2 separate regions of the Homo sapiens genome follow, and region 1 is linked to region 2. Evidence: promoter capture Hi-C in 16 types of primary human blood cells and fetal thymus (Javierre and others, 2016). All regions are on one chromosome and are shown on one strand. The core of a region is centred on a gene start or on the middle of the fragment in contact, and the rest is flanking DNA. Distances in the headings are between cores, read along the strand shown. Region 1 has its middle 13 kb from the start of CYP11B1. Region 2 holds the start of LY6D (lymphocyte antigen 6 family member D).

The links. Contacts are between HindIII fragments. The CHiCAGO score rates a contact against its expected background, and 5 or more counts as called.
Region 1: a contact is called between a fragment that was not itself captured here and the fragment with the promoter of LY6D in region 2, in 1 of 17 cell types (total CD8 T cells). The highest score is 5.7, in total CD8 T cells.

Annotation. Positions count from the first base shown.
Region 1 is chr8:142,864,441-142,868,689 of GRCh38, reverse strand. No RefSeq gene overlaps it. Among named protein-coding and RNA genes, the nearest start is that of CYP11B1, 13 kb to the left of the region's middle. The HindIII fragment of the contact is 2,373 bases long and covers 1,780-4,152 here.
Region 2 is chr8:142,783,899-142,788,365 of GRCh38, reverse strand. LY6D (lymphocyte antigen 6 family member D) reads left to right here and starts at 1,827. Exons shown (of 3, transcript NM_003695.3): 1 at 1,827-1,901; 2 at 2,679-2,777; 3 at 2,910-3,484. The coding sequence starts at 1,850. The coding sequence ends at 3,145. The HindIII fragment of the contact is 15,715 bases long and covers 1-4,467 here.

The DNA.
Region 1 (4,249 bases), core at 1,717-4,216, 79 kb before region 2:
TTCAATGTCCCCTCCAGAACTCATGTTGAAACATAACCCAGAAGTGGCAGTGTTGATTCGTGGTGCCTTTGGGAGGTGACTAGACTATGAAGGGTTTTGCCCCCATTAATATATTAATCCATTCCTGGATTAATGGGCTGTCATGGAAACTGGTGACTTTATAAGAAGAGGAAGAGAGACCTGAGCTAGCACACGCAATCACACTCAGCCCCTCGCCATGTGATGTCCTGCGCCACCCTGGGACCCTTCAGAGAGTCTCCACCAGCAATAAGACTCTCACCAGATTCACCTCGAACTGACAGCTTCTTAGACCCCATAACTGTGAAAAATAAATTTCTTTTTCTTTACAAATTACCCAGTTTCAGGTATTCTGTTATAAACAACAGAAAACAGACTAAGACAATAGTATGCAGGTATTGACTGACAAATGCTTTTTTCTAAATTTCTATTAGGAATGACCACCAGAAGTAATTTGCTTTCAGCTGGCAAAATCAGCAATACAACTTTTCTGTCCTAATGGCTGTGATAATTGTATACGTTAACTTGAGTAGGATACAGTATCCAGTAACTCAAACATGATTTATGAGTATACGTCTGTTCTTACCTTCCTATAAAGAAATACCTGAGACAGTGTAATTTATTTTAAAAAGAGGTTTAATTGCCTCATGGCTCTGCAGGCTGTACAGAAAGGATAGAAGCTTCTGCTCAGCTTCTGGAGGGGCCTCAGGAAACTTACAATCATGGCGAAAGGTAAAGAGGAAGCAGGCACGTCTTATGTGGCTGGAGCAGGAGTAAGAGAGCATGGAGAGGTGCTACACACTTTTAAACAACCAGATCTTCTGAGAACTCACTCACTGTCCAGTATCAAGGGGGAACGGTGCTAAACCATTCATCAGAACTCCGCCCCCGTGATCCAGTCACCTCCCACCAGGCCCCACCTCCAACACTGGGGATTACAACTGAACATGAGATTTGGATGGGAACACAGCCAAACCATATCGCTCTGTGTTGTGAAGGTATTTTGTAGATGTAGTTAACATCAACAGTAAATTGACTTTAAGTAAAGAAGATTAAGATCACTCTCAAAAATGTGGTGGATCTTATCCAATCAGTTGAAAGGGCTTAAAAGCCAAATTAATGTTTTCTAGAGAAGAAGAAATTCTACCTCAAGACTGCGGCATCAATTCCTGCCCAAGAGGTTCCAACCTACTGACCTGGCCTACAGATTTTGAACTTACCAGCCCCCCAAATCATGTGAAAACACACACACACACACACACACACACACACACACAGAGTATATATTTAGAGACAGAGAGAGAGATCCATTGGAACTACTGATTCTGTTTCTCTAGAGGACCTGCACTAATACATTTGGTGATATGGTTTGGCTGTGTCCCCACCCAAATCTCATCTCAAATTGCAATCCAAATATGTCAAGGGAGGGACCAGGTGGGAGGTGATTAGATCATGAAAGCAGTTTCTCCCATGCTGTTCTCATGACAGTGAGCGAGTTCTCACAAGATGTGGTTGTTTGACAGTATCTGGCACTTCCCCCCTTGCTTCTCTCTCTCTCCTGCCACTTTGTGAAGAAGGTCCTTGCTTCCCCTTCACCTTCCACCATGATTGTAAGTTTCCTGAGACTTCCCCAGCCATGCACAACTGTGAGTCAATTAAACCTCTTTATAAATTACCCAGTCTCAAGCAGTTTTTTATAGCAGTGTGAAAACAAATTAATACACCTGGATACAGGAAAAGGTTTTTTAATAAATAAAAGCTTTTCAATAAATAAATCTGACAACACAAAAAAATCTTTTGCATTGCAAAAATGTAAACAAATCAAAAGACAACTGATGAACTAGTAGAAAATATTTGCAAAATACATCACAAATAAAGTGCTAATGTCCTCAAAATATAAAGTGCTTAAAGATGACTGACTGGGATCAGCTACTGGGCACCTCTCTCCCAGAGAGGAATCAAAATCATGAGTAAACACTAACACTTCAAGTAGATCATCTAAGAGAGCATGCTGAAATTCAACAGAGAAATGACAGGAATCACAGACAGCCTAGGAGAGCTAAGATGGCACCCTCCGAGCTGGTACAGGCAGAGTTGGGAGAGGCTCCCTAATGTGGGCAAGTGGTGGGCAAGTGAGAGACCCCAGGTGTCCACACCTCTGCCATGGGCCTTTAAAATCCTAGACATGAGAAAGACCACTCAAGTACCCCAGACCTCCAGGGAGCTGCCTGGAGACAGCACAGAGGCACCCCTCAAACCTGTGTGGAATCCTACAGGCTTTTGATCCCTGAACAGCCTAATACCAGCTGCTGCTACCATGCCAAAGAGGGAGGCTGAGCACTTTTGCATTCCCCAAAGACAGATGCTGCACCCATGGTATGGAGGAGCAGGCAGACTACGCACTGCATGGCTTCCTACTTCTGCTGCTCCCCACCAAATGGGGTGTGCCTGCATTGGCAACAGGGCCCCAGCAAAGCCACCCCATAGCTCAGCGTTTCCCTGAAATCTCAACCCCCAGAAACCACTGATAAGCCCTGTGGGTCATGCAGTAGTCACTGCCACTGCTGCCTCCACCCCTGCCACCCATGGTCCAGGGAGGGAGCAGGGAGGCCAGGCACCTGCACATGCCCCAGCAGCAAAATCCAGCGCTGCTTCTGTGGGAGGGAAGTGCGATGGGCCACGCGCTCTGAAGCTGCCAGTCTCCAGTGTCGCAGCTCGGGGGGTCTGCCTTCCCTAGTGAAAGGGCCACAGCACAAGCATCAGCTCTCACTTGACCTTTTCAGCTGCAGCTTGGAGCCTTTCTGACAGCCCAGCCCCCAAAGGCCTATAATCTGCCCTCAGGCTCTCACTGCCTGAGCATTCTGCCTGCTGGCACCTGAGAGTTTGGCTGGTGGCCAGGGACCAGTCTACCCCTCCCTGTCACATCTAGCACCTGAACTCTGGGCCGGCCGGATCCTGGTCCAGTCCCTACAGCACTCATATATACCATTCACTGGCCATCTAGGGACCTAGGAATTAGAGAATTATCTAGCCTATTGTGGCACTGCTGATACCTGACCACTCCCCCAGGGCCTGAGGTGGGCTGACCCAACCAGCTGACGTCACTGCAACTGAAACCTGCCCACACAGGCTGAAAGGCAGAGACCCTCCCCACCCGCCAGCAGTTACCACCCTGGGGAACAGGGGAGCCACAAAGCTGTCTGTATCGGACTGAGTGGAGGTTATATCCAAAACCACTCCCACAGAGAGCCATAGGACTGGCATTTCCGTGGCTCTCCGCTACACTGTGGCCTAGAGATAGACCACAGTGTGCATCTGAAATGAAAGTCACTAGCCCTGGCACAGGGGTGTGATAGGGAAACAGATTGTGCTCCTGCCTATCTAGGACATAGAGCTAGTGCAATTCCCCAGGTGCCTGTGCTTGCCATTGGGGTATTTATGGGCAAGCCAGGGGATCCAGCTCTGCCTAGCTGTGTCCCCCATCCACTGAACAGATAGCTCAGGGTGCCAGGCACTCCACTGTCCAGCCCATCACCTGAAACAACAGAGAGTTCCTCACAGTAGCCAAAGGTCTAGTTCATACCCATCCACTTGTGCTGCAGCCAATTCTTACCCATAACTACCACCTACTGGCCTGCAGGTCAAACTGCACAACTCACTATAAAACCTGCTGACCGAGGTGCAGAGGGCTATAGAAGGGAAGCCAAAAGACCCTGCCCAAGTACTCCACAGTCACACCCCCAAGGGTTGGGGGGAATAATAGAGAAAAAAAAAACAATCAGAATGAAAATAAATTCAAAAATAAGAAGTGTCAGCTTCTACAAATGAGAAAGAATCAGCATAAGAACTCTGGCACCACGAAAAATCAGAATGTTGTGACCAAAGGATCACACTAGCTCTTTATCAATGGACCCCAACCAAAATGAGAACTCATAAATGACAGGTAAAGAATTCAAAGTATGGGCTGTAAGGATGCTCAACGAGATCCAAGAGAAGGTTGAAAACCAACACAAAAGAACCATGAAAGCCTTCCAGGAAATAAAGACAAAGGTAAATATCTTAGAAACAAAAACCCAACAGAACTTGTGGAGAAGGAAAGTTCATTTAAGGAATTTCAAAGTACAGTTGGAAGCTTTAACAATAGACTACACCAAGCAGAAGAAAGAATATCCAAGCTTGAAGACTGGTCTTTTGAATTAACCCAGTCAGACAAAAATAAAGAAAAAAGAAT
Region 2 (4,467 bases), core at 578-3,077:
ATGCCTCTCACTGTGACCCATGGACACAGGGCCTTGGAGCTGGAGGAAACCTCCTCTCTCTGGGTGGGGGCATGGACCTTTGGGTCACCTGCCTTGGCAAGTGAGACTACACACGTCCCCACCAAGCTCCAGCCAGGGCCAGGCACCAGATGCAAATGTGGGGCTGCCCCAGGGGGCTCCCGCCTGCACCCTGGTTTCTAAAGGCACCACCAGGCAACCCCTCCTGTAGGTGGATCCTCCAGGCCCCGGCACTGTGTCAGGGAGAGCCCGGCCAGGAGCATTCTCAGGAGACATTTGCTGGGATCCCCGGCATCTGAGACGTGGGGCTCAGCAAGGGAGAGATGCCGGGAGGAAGGGCCAGAGGGTCTGTCTCAAGCCCAGGCCTGACTGGCCCCAGTACCCACGGTGCTCCCAAAAGCCTCAGCCCAGCCCAGGACCACCCTCCTCGGAACCGGCCCTGCCCTGCCCTGGGCCTGTTGTTGTCTGTTCATCAGCCACGTGGCAGCGGCGGCAGGAGGCTGGGCCCAGGGCTGACCTCCATCTGTGCCCCGGCTCCCACTCACCTTCAGCCTAGCCAGGGCAGGGGCAAAGCAAGTCTGTGGGCCCCTCCACACCACTCAGGTGGGTGCTGCCCAGCACAGGCGAGCGGCAGAGCGTGCTGGGCTGAGCAGGTGGATGGGGGCCCCAAGAGGTGGGCTCCTGCGCGAGGCGGTGGGTGCTCAGAGACCCCGTCTCCAGGGAAAGAAAGTCCCTCCTGTGAGTATAAAGAGGGTGAAGGCGGGGACTGGCCTCCACTCAACGGGCAGCAGACCAAGAACCTGCTTTGAGGCCCTGGGTGCTGGGGCCCAGCCCCAAAGAGTTCACGATTTTGGGGAGACTGGAGCCGGGACACCTAGAGCAATAGTTACAAAGTGGCCGGGATGGCGCTGCCCCCAACGTAGCAGGAGGGGCCTGGAGAGTGGGGGAAGGAATCCCACGGGGAGGGCTTCTGGGGCCCTGGAGGGCGGGAGGCAGGGCTGGTGGAGACCAGGAGGGCTCAGTCTCTCCCTGCACAACGCAGGGTGGAGTTGCTGCCTCCACAGCCCGGGCCTTCTGCCCACAGGGCTCCCCAGGCAACTTCGAGGGCCGGGTCCTCACAGTCCTCACTCTGTCCAGTGCTCACCTCACTGCTGCCCCAGCTGCCCTCCCTGCCTCGGAGTGGCCTCTGCCTCTGCCTCTGCCTCACACACCCCATCAGCCCACAGCCACCCCGAGCCCTTGCAGCTCAAGGACCTTCTGCATCCCCGGCAGCAACCCTGAGCCCAGAGCCAGGAGAGTAGGACCAGCACCTGCCCTTCCTACCTCCCCTGCCCTGGACACCCACGGGCACCCACAGGGCACCGGGCACAGGCTGCAACTCTATTGAGGGAACTATGGGGGGAATGCAGGGACAAAGACACAGGATGGTGATGGATGGTGGGGGGTGGGGGGCGGGGGGTAGCGGGTGGCAGGTCAGAGACAAAGTGACCCAGGAACGGACGGCAGCGAGAGAACAAGACCCACAGAGACAGAGAAGTGAAAGTGGGAGAGATGGAGGCACAGCAGCAGGAACAGCAGGGCCAGGAGGCCACTGGGCCCCGTTGCGGAGGGCAGACCTCTGCCTGGCGGGGGGCAGCAGGGGCAGCGCCCAGCGACAGCCAGGCTGGTGGGCGTGGGCCAGGCAGGGTGGGGCAGGTGCCCGTCCTGGGCTGACGCTTGCACAGAGCCCTGCAGAATGCCGCTGGCTGGCGGACTGCCCACCCCCGCCCAGCCCGTGCCTATAAGGCCTTGGCAATGCAGGGGCCCGCACTGCTCCCAGACGACATCAGAGATGAGGACAGCATTGCTGCTCCTTGCAGCCCTGGCTGTGGCTACAGGGCCAGGTGAGGGGCTGGGCCAAGGGGACGGGCGGGTGGGCGGCTGTGGCCTGTGTGGTCACCAAATACTAGGAGCCTGGAGCTGACGACATCTAGGCACAGAGAACCCCGACACTGTGGGTGCTAGACTCTTCAAATTTAAAACAACATGGAGCCCGAATCTTAACGAGTGTCAGATTTACAATGTTTCAGAATCTGAGGATCTTAGAACTGACTCCTGGAGTCACGGACCCTGAGAGAGTGGAGCAGGGGGTTGTCTTGAGATGCTTCTCACTGGGAGAGCGGCCATCTAGTCCCTGCCACCAGCCCCTCCCGGTCCCCAGGTCTCCCCCAGCACAGCCCAGGACAGCCCAAAGGCCACCAAGCCCTTCCTGTCATAGGCTCAGAGCAGCCAAGCTGGCTGCCCCCGGGGCCTTAGCTCCGTCAGGCCCTCAGAAACATAGCCATCTCCTCCAGGGACATCCCCTGGGGTGGGGACAAGAGCCAGTGTCCTCTTGGCAGTCGCAGAGCTCCCTGAGACCTTGGAGGAAAGGCTTGCAACACACCCTAGACAGGGGCAGGGCAGGACACCTCTTCCAAGCCGGCCCAGGCTGGAATACATGTCCCCTGAGGCTGCACTCAGGGCACATGCCCTGCCAGGACCCAGAGCCCGGGTTTGGGGGCCTAGGGCAAGGGCAGCAGGGCCTCTGTCCAGGAGGGGTCTCTGCAGGTGGGGGAGCAGGCCCTGCTGAGTCACCAGGAGGCCTCTGTTGGGCCCGCTGAGCCGGACTCCCTCCCCGCCAGCCCTTACCCTGCGCTGCCACGTGTGCACCAGCTCCAGCAACTGCAAGCATTCTGTGGTCTGCCCGGCCAGCTCTCGCTTCTGCAAGACCACGAACACAGGTGGGTAGCATCTGTCCAGGTGTCCCTGGGGCTGGGGGACATCCCTGGCTGTTGTGGGTGTTGGCTGGAAGGTTGTGGGGAGGTGGGGGGCAGAGGTGGCTGCCTGGCCTGACCACACTCACCTGTGCCCAGTGGAGCCTCTGAGGGGGAATCTGGTGAAGAAGGACTGTGCGGAGTCGTGCACACCCAGCTACACCCTGCAAGGCCAGGTCAGCAGCGGCACCAGCTCCACCCAGTGCTGCCAGGAGGACCTGTGCAATGAGAAGCTGCACAACGCTGCACCCACCCGCACCGCCCTCGCCCACAGTGCCCTCAGCCTGGGGCTGGCCCTGAGCCTCCTGGCCGTCATCTTAGCCCCCAGCCTGTGACCTTCCCCCCAGGGAAGGCCCCTCATGCCTTTCCTTCCCTTTCTCTGGGGATTCCACACCTCTCTTCCCCAGCCGCAACGGGGGTGCCAGGAGCCCCAGGCTGAGGGCTTCCCCGAAAGTCTGGGACCAGGTCCAGGTGGGCATGGAATGCTGATGACTTGGAGCAGGCCCCACAGACCCCACAGAGGATGAAGCCACCCCACAGAGGATGCAGCCCCCAGCTGCATGGAAGGTGGAGGACAGAAGCCCTGTGGATCCCCGGATTTCACACTCCTTCTGTTTTGTTGCCGTTTATTTTTGTACTCAAATCTCTACATGGAGATAAATGATTTAAACCAGTGTGGCTGTGGCTGTGCTATTCTGGGACGGAGGAGCTGAGGGGCGGATATCAGGCCACATAGGTACCCTGAGCCTCCAGCACATGTCCCCTGGGGCCAGTCGTGGGGTGATGCCTGAGGTGGCACCGTCCGTCCCCACCCTGGAAGGGGCAGGCTGCTCAGATGCCTCCCACCGCCCCAGAGGTGGAGGGCACTCCTGGGGTGAGGCCTGAGTAGGAGCACAGGGTAAGAGGGCTCGCAGGCCCCTCCCACACATAGCACCTAGGGGAGAAGGAACCCCTCAGCCTTTCACCCCGGGTCATGTCTCTGAGACCGGGGTTCAGGAGCCTCCAGAGAGGCCGGCTTGGGACACCCCAGGCCCAACCCCAGCTTTGGAGCCAAGTAGGCACTGACTACCTACAGCCATCGCCAAGGCAAGTCCAGCTGCCCAGGGAAAGTTCAGCCACCATCCAGGAAAGTCCCATGGACCCTATCTATGGGAACCCAGCAGCCCCTTGGCCAGACCTCACCAGGGTGAAGCTAGACTGGGCGGGGAGTATGACGCAGGGAATATGGGCCAGATGAGGTCGCCCAGAGGCAGGGAGGGTTCCGCACCCACTGCGTGGGTTCTGGTATTTCGGGGATGAGGTTGGGACGTGCAGTGAGATGAGGCCCCCGGCAGATGCCCCAGCAAGGGGCCCTTCCACTTCTGGAGAGGGCCAGAGGCTCCTGCAGGCTGACCACATGTCCCCGGCATGGGAAGTCTCAGGCCTCACCAGGGTCAGAGCAGAGCTCTGCCTTCCCCCAGGCCAGCTCCCTCGCAGGCCTGGCCTGGAAATTCCGTGGTGGCAGAGCCCCCTCCGGCCGCGGCCAGCAGACGGTGGCGTAGCGTGGGTGGCAGCTGGTGAGGGGTCAGTGGTGCTCCCTGGCCCTGGGTCCAGGCATTCAGCTCTTTGTCCCACACACCATGAGACCAGCACCATCACCACCCCCAGTTCCAGCTGA